3 separate regions of the Homo sapiens genome follow, and regions 2 and 3 are each linked to region 1. The links are contacts of gene promoters, found by promoter capture Hi-C in human tissues and cell types (Jung and others, 2019). All regions are on one chromosome and are shown on one strand. The core of a region is centred on a gene start or on the middle of the fragment in contact, and the rest is flanking DNA. Distances in the headings are between cores, read along the strand shown.

The links. Contacts are between HindIII fragments. The study calls those that stand out against the background at their distance.
Region 2: a contact is called between a fragment that was not itself captured here and the fragment with the promoter of VEGFC in region 1, in 2 of the 25 tissues and cell types used here (IMR-90 fibroblasts and mesenchymal stem cells).
Region 3: a fragment that was not itself captured here is called in contact with the fragment with the promoter of VEGFC in region 1 in 1 of the 25 tissues and cell types used here (hippocampus).

The regions. Positions count from the first base shown.
Region 1 is chr4:176,791,639-176,794,197 of GRCh38, forward strand. It overlaps VEGFC (vascular endothelial growth factor C), which reads right to left and starts at 1,284. Exons shown (of 7, transcript NM_005429.5): 1 at 527-1,284. The coding sequence starts at 673. The HindIII fragment of the contact is 7,489 bases long and covers 1-2,559 here.
Region 2 is chr4:177,186,938-177,189,496 of GRCh38, forward strand. No RefSeq gene overlaps it. Among named protein-coding and RNA genes, the nearest start is that of NEIL3, 120 kb to the right of the region's middle. The HindIII fragment of the contact is 5,629 bases long and covers 1-2,559 here.
Region 3 is chr4:177,092,545-177,095,103 of GRCh38, forward strand. No RefSeq gene overlaps it. Among named protein-coding and RNA genes, the nearest start is that of NEIL3, 220 kb to the right of the region's middle. The HindIII fragment of the contact is 3,421 bases long and covers 1-2,559 here.

The DNA.
Region 1 (2,559 bases), core at 34-2,533:
TCTGAAAGCTCTGGAGCCTGGTTACTAAAGTCCCTGACACTTTTTTTCTAAAGTCGCTCACAGCGCCTGGTGCTCTGCAGACTATGAACACTCCAGGAAAGTAAGGCTGGGTTGACTGATCACCAGTGTCCCAGAATCTGTTTGGAGTCCCATGAATCAGCTGGGGAAAGAAACGAGCATTTCCCGACCAAAATGAACTCATACTCTCCAGAGCCCCGCTGACTGGGCAGGGTTCAAGACCCCTTGGTTGCCCCAGAGGAAACCAGTCTGAAATAGATTTCGGGATCTCTCACTGGGCACCTCTCCGGGCCCTTCACTCGTGTAACTTGCTTGCCTCTCTAGTAACAACTTTCTATTTAAAAAGAAGAAGATTTTTCTCCAAAGCAGCGTGCACTGAGCTCAGTAACTTTGGATCCCACGTACACAAGCTTAAAGCACACACACTTTCCCCCGCGCAGGTTCTCGGGTCCGCCGCAGACCCTAACGCAAACTCTCGGGTTCTCCGCAAACCCTAACGCAGACCTACCGTGGCCTCGCCCGCGTCGGGCTCCGCGTCCGAGAGGTCGAGTCCGGACTCGAAGGCGGCGGCGGCGGCGGGCGCCTCGCGAGGACCCGGGAGCAGCGCAGCGGCGAGCAGAGAACACGCCACAGAGAAGAAGCCCAGCAAGTGCATGGTGGAAGGACCGGGGGTGGGGGACCGGTCCGCTGGCGGGGGCAGGGGTGGGGGCGCGGGCGCCCCTGCGAGGCCGCGGGCCCCTCCTGGTCCCTCTCCCCCGGGCTCCTCCCGGCGACCCCCCCTGGGCGAGCCGGAGGCGGCGGGAGCGGGTCCGGGGCTCCGCGTTCCCAACTTTGCAGGGCGCCCTCCCAGCCAGTGCCGGGGAAAGGCGGCGGGTGTCAGGTAAAAGCCTCACAGGAAACCGGACATCCGAGCTCCCCGCATTCGGAGCCCGCGAGGTGAAGCGAGGGCGAGGGAGGACGCCGCCGCGGTCCGCGTCGGTGTAGCTTTTTGGAGAGGCGGGGCGGGGGACACCAGAACACCCCGCGATGTTCAGCCCCTCCAAACCCGCCAGAGCCCTCGTCCCCCTCCTCCCTCCCCTTCCCCGAAGTGAGAGGAGCCGGGCCGCGGGCGCTGCGGCGGGGGCGCTGGCGGCGGTGCCGGGGGCGGGAGGAGGGCGGCGGGGCGGCTGGCGGCGGCGGGGCCCGGGAGCGCCGCGGCGCAGGATCCTCCAGAGCGCGCCGGGCTGAGCGGCGGCGGCGGCGGCGGCGGGCGCAGGGGCAGGGCATGACTGACGCGCCCTCTGCCTGCGCTTATGTGAGAGAAAGCGGCCGAGGGAGGGAGCGTGCCGAGCCCGGGCTGCCCTCCCCTCTCACTCTCCCTCGGAAGCCGTCTCCCTGGAGCTCCCCGTTTCCCTCGCCTCCTCCCCGGCGGCCCCACCTCCCCCGGCCCCCCTCTGGATCTCTCCCTCCCCGCCCCTGTCCCCTGCGGGGAGCGGGCGGCCGGAGGGGCAAGTTCAGTCCCGGGGCTGGCGGTTGGCGGGACCGGCTTTAGAGGTGATGCGACCACCCTGGACCACGTGCAGCGGGGAGAAACTGGGCACCGTGGGGTGGAGGGAGCCCCCGCTTTATCCTCGGCCACTCCCGAGTTCTTGTCCTCCCTCCCGCACGCCTGGCCCCCAGAGCCCTGCTCAAAGTTTGGAAATGTCCTGGGGGTTGTAAAAGTTCCAAGAAAAGGTCATCACTATGTCAGAGAACCCTATGGGACCTCGGAGGGGTCCCCTCTCTCCCTTGGTCTGTGTAGTTGAAAGTTGCCTGATGATCCAAGAACCGCAGTTCTCAGGATGCAGTGCAGGCTGTTGGGATGGATGCTAATGATCCCTTTGGAATCCTAAACTTCTGACAGGTGAAGAGAAGGGCCAGAATCTTCGTGGAGAGTAAAGAGACACATTGTCAGCTTCTGCAAGAAGTTGGTTTACTTGAAAAAGGGGGTGATAAAGAGAGATGTGTGTGAGACATATTCCAGAAAGGATGTGTAGCATCCAAAGAAAAGTGACTGCATTTCCCCATTGGAAAAGCACTGGGGTTTCCGTTGGGCTGGTGGCATTGGCTAGCTGCCTCCTTGGGGCAGGGTGAGCAGGTTACAGAGGACCACGCTAAGGGGTTTCAACAGTGTACAGAACATCAAAAGTCTGCCTTTCACTCCCAATCTACTTTTAAGTACACAGATGTTATAGGTCCATAATATCTTACCGGAAGAAGAGACTTTCTTATCTGGTTCAACTCTAGATTTGAAACTCCTCACCCATAATTTACTTGAAGGCTTAAATATCTCAAAGGACAGGGAACCTTCCATTCTGTGTGGCTGTTCACTCCCTTTATTGATGAGCAACACTGCTGAAAAGCATTTCCTTCTATCTCTCTATTGCTTTTGACTCCTGGAGTTTTACACAATAAATCTAATCTCACTTCCACAACTGAGTCCTTCAAATATTTTGAAAATATTTATCATGGTCTCCCTAAGCTAACTTTACTCCTGGCTAAATATCCCTTTTATTCCCCAAG
Region 2 (2,559 bases), core at 18-2,517, 400 kb after region 1:
CTTGGGAAGTTATGTGAGAACACACGTGTTCCCTAAGATAAAAATTTTATAATACTCTTTGCTAATTTTTGCAACATGGCAAAATTAAGGTAGTTTAGACATATCTGTAAGATCATGAGAAATGTTCTAGGTGTATTGCTTTCTGATGACAAAAATGAGAAAACCTAGGAAAACACAGAGTTGACAGATCCTAGATGATTTTCTTTTAATACATTATGTCTCAAATAGAATTTCAGGAAGTCCTGGTTCGTATTCAATTCAGGTTTACATATTCTGACATGAGATCCATGTGCTTAAATATGAGGCTGTCAGAAGGCAGAATTATATCTATTGTATGTGGTTTGGCACTTGACAAATTACTGGTCCTGGGAGCCGTCCCACTTCCATATGAGGCTGACCACAGGCTGCTTGAAAATAAAATATTTTCTCAAAAAGGATCTTTTTAAAATATTTGAACTCTGGCAAACAACAATTGTGAGCCTCACATTCTGATTTATATAAGGAATAATAAATTATGGCTTGAAAAACGTTAGGACATTTTGTATCAACAATTTTTGCAGATAATATATTCAAATTCTTAAGCAAATCAAAACAAAGAACTCTTAGCATTTGTGAGCTCAGTGCTGAGCTAGTGGGCATGTGGAAAGTTCAGTGTATATGATCTGCCTTCAAGAAACTTCGAAATTCTAAATTGTGTTCTCAGACATCTGGCTCCTGCAATCTTTTGACTAGAAAGTATACCTCTTCTGAAAGAAGGTTTACTTTGAATGTATACTGTATTTTAAAAAGAGAGCAGCCTGTAATCTCAGCACTTTGGGAGACCAAGGCAAGTGGATCACCTGAGGTCAGGAGTTTGAGATGAGCCTGGCCAACATGGTGAAACCCTGTCTCTACTAAAAATACAAAAATTAGCCGGGCATGCTGGTGCGCATCTGTAGTCCCAGCTACTTGGGAGGCTGAGGCAGGAGAATGACTTGAACCTGGGAGGCGGAGGTTGCAATGAGCCGAGTTTGGGCCACTGCACTCCAGTCTGGGAAACTGAGCAAGACTCCATCTCAAAAAAAAAAAAGAGCAAATCCAGTCAGCAAGCTAACTAATCAGATGTTTCAAAATAGCCAAATAAGTTGCTCCTTAATGTTATTTTGGAATTTTATTTAATTCCTATGTAATTTAATTGTACACCCAAACTATGTTTCTTTCAGTACATTTCTGAAATCAGTTATGATAATTTTATGATTTTTTTTCACAAGTTAATTTTAATTTTCCAAGTCCCTATAAAGTCTCGAACTGTTTTGGCTTGATTGTCATCTTTTAAATTACTTTATATAGATACATACTGCAAACTAAAACTGAACTGCCATATGATTGAACTTTTCTCCTACCTGGAAATGCCCCCTGACCAAAAACATTGTCCTATCAGTGTGCTTGTATATAACTAAAAGGTCCATTACATACCAGTACTTAAAAAAAAAATTTCCATGAACCCAGGGATGAAATGCTTTCTCCAAAGCTCTCATGTTCTAACATTAAAGGAAAAGAAACTGGACTAATTTGCTATTGTTCACACAGTGCTTTTTTTTTTTTTTTTTTTTTGAGACGGAGTCTCGCTCTGTCGCCCAGGCTGGAGTGCAGTGGCGCGATCTCGGCTCACTGCAAGCTCCGCCTCCCGGGTTCACGCCATTCTCCTGCCTCAGCCTCCCAAGTAGCTGGGACTACAGGCGCCCGCCACTACGCCTGGCTAATTTTTTGTATTTTTAGTAGAGACGGGGTTTCACCGTTTTAGCCGGGATGGTCTCGATCTCCTGACCTCGTGATCCGCCCGCCTCGGCCTCCCAAAGTGCTGGGATTACAGGCGTGAGCCACCGCGCCCGGCCACAGTGCTTCTTAAAAAAGAAGAATGTGAGCTTCTAAATGCTATAGGTAGGAGGCCCCACTACAAAGCCCTCTCTAGATGTGGCAAATGGAATTTCCATGGCCCAACTGCCTTCATTCACACTGTTACTACCATAGTCACTTCCTACCAGTAGAAAGATAGTGTTACCTTATTTGTTGCTAAAAGTTCTCATAAGCTCATTTATATGCATATTTCAATTCAACATAAAAACACAAACAATAAAAACATAAAGACAGCAATCTGCATTGCACTCCTAAATCTGTTCTTCTTTTCTAGAGTGTATTAAAAATTTGAGTGGGATTAAAATGTAAAGATTATTTATCCCATTGTCTTTCAAATAAGGAAATTTAAACTAACAAATATTGTAACTTGCCCAAGATTAAAACCAGAAATAGATTAAAATGCATTTGTTAAATTAATAAAAAAGCAAGGTGATGTGTATTCGCCAGATTGTTCACTTTTCCTGATATTTAAATATTGTGAACTTCAAAGTACATTTCTTTGACACTTTTCAAAATATAATAGTTTTTCCAAGAGGTTACTAATACATTAGACTATCTGACATCCTGCCTCCCTCCTCCTCCCTCCCTCCCTCCCTTCTTCCAACAATGAGCTGTGAAAATATCGCAGGCACTGCATTTGTCACTAGAAATTAACCAAAAAAG
Region 3 (2,559 bases), core at 37-2,536, 300 kb after region 1:
CTCATGAAGTGAAAGCTATATATTAAATTTGAAAGAACACCCAATGTTGTTACTATATTTAATGTTTGGAAAATAAGTTCTTAGATTATGTTTTAGACTGAAAAACAAGGTTTCCAGCACACAGATTGAAAATATCACTCACTTATTTATTGTCCTAGATCATCCTGCTATTTCTATGTCAAAGGCTTGATATGAGACTTAGTATCTAAATAGTACTATTTTACCAACCATATCAACTAGCTTGTTTTAAAAGTTGTTTATTTTCTAAGTCATTGATGAGAGCTATAGTCTTGTGTTAAAATTTTTAAAGAGTATACCTCACAAGACACACTCTGTGCTACTAGCCCTTTAAACAAAGTTCATGCCATATGACAGAAATAAATAATGGGTTTGCAAATTACACCATCCAATTGGTCTCCTGCATATTTGGCTTTGTGTCCTTGGAGTGATTTTCAACATCATTAAGTGAAAAGCCCATCATTTCCCAAGTAACAAGGGATGAAGCACATACAGAGATTGACTTGGCGTGTGTTACATAAACTTTCTGTTTTAGATTTGAAGAATTTACATAACACCGAAACAAAACAACACCCTGCAAACATATTTGTACAGTCAGTTAAATTTCTCTACAGTCCCATTCTATAGTCAGCCCTGCCAAGGTTACTCTGGCTGTTAAATTTTATGACATAATTTTTAATACAGTAATATTTTTCACTTAATTTTTTAAATTTATTGATGGTACTTAGAATTTTTGTCCTGCATAATAGATGCCTATCTGAAACTTGGGAAGACAGAAAATTATTTAACATATTAGAAACTATTTGTACAATTGTTCTGATAATCAGTAAGTTTTGAAATAGCTACAACTCTCCTAGTCCAAAATTAATTTCAATAAAATTATATGAAGGCATTATTTCCATATGTGAATCTTACTTTTTTATATATACCATATTATATAGGCTGCTATATATAGAAATATATGTATATATATGCATATATATGTACATACATACATACATAAACATATATGTGTGTATATATACATATTCATAACTTTTTCCTTGGAGTTACTCGAATATTTGACACTCAATCCAACAAAAAATATATTTAAATAAAATTTTGAATTATATATTTTGTTACTGGAATATTGAAGGATGCCTCGACCTGTATTGACCTATTTGAAGTCTCTCCCTGTATTGACGTATCTGAAGTAATATAAAATTAGGTATTTTTTATTTCAGACTAGTATTTTAAAGTCAAATGCACCATTCCTAATATGGTGACACTTTAAGCTTTAGTAATTGAAATAACAAAAAAATCATCAGGAAGATTGTGTACCCTGTGGGAAGGAAAAATGGAACACATTGTCAAATGCTTGAGGGTATTTCCTCCTTCTGCTTTATGCAGATCAATTTCTCCCTTGCAAAATTATTTTTAAAACAAATAGTTGAAATATACCAAATATACTAAGGGCCTTTCCTTTCCAGAGCTGACAGGCCAGAGAAGTCAAGACAAAACCTAATCAGCCACAAAAACCTCAAAGTGGGCCAGAGGGAGAATGTGGTCACACTTCTTCCCTTGCTTATTTGGACACCAGTGAACACACAAGGCACTTAGATTGATACTACTTTTTGCAGACTCATAGCAAAGACAATAGGGCTGCCTGTGACAATAATCCAGAACAGATGATCATTTCTTGGCATACAGTTAGCACAGGAGGGCCCTGCCTGAGGTACCAGCCTTGTTTTATGTCATGTAAATTCTGACTTACGCATAGCACAAATTACTAACATAAAGCAAATCAGTGCTTTTCATATTTTTTCCTTTGAATCACATCAAAAATTAAAACTATTATCCACAACTGCTCCCACGCGTTTTCACAGATCAGCTCCTCCAGAGCTATGGCATTTGCCCCTTTGCACTCGGAACAGCTAATCTTATCATTTAGTCCTTCAGTATGAGAAAGATATGCAACTGGCCTGAACACTGTTGGTGGATATGGTGAGATACAGCCACAGAGGCAGAGTACCAGATGTGGCCCTTTTTTTTTTTTTTTTTTCCAGTAAGATCTTATGGGGTATAACTTCCCTTCACCTCTTTCTGCCTGGCTTGTGCTTGTGGGTGGCCTTTGTTTCTATGGTTGAAAGCTAAGGGATGGTGGGATCCAACTGTATCACATCTGATTCAAGTTGGCATTTGTGGCAGTAACAACATTCTAGATGGTTCAGCTTCCCACAAGCTATTCTTAGTGAATTTCCAAAGGTTAGTGAAAAAACAAACAACTCTCCTTCTCTTTTTTCTCCTCTGATGCCAGGGAAACTCACAACAAGTCAAAAGAGCTTACTTTAGAGTCTGGATCAGTTTCCAAACAACCTGGAGGGTTCATCAGGGATTCTATGCTGTACTTTTTAAACCATTTATTTGGAAAGTTTGCTAAAATCTACTATCACTGGAAATCTGAGTCTCAGCCCCTCAGCCCACTAAACTGTACTCACATATAGAGTAGAAGGTTGGGTACATATCTATATAATGAAATGTGTTGGTATCAAAAGAATATAA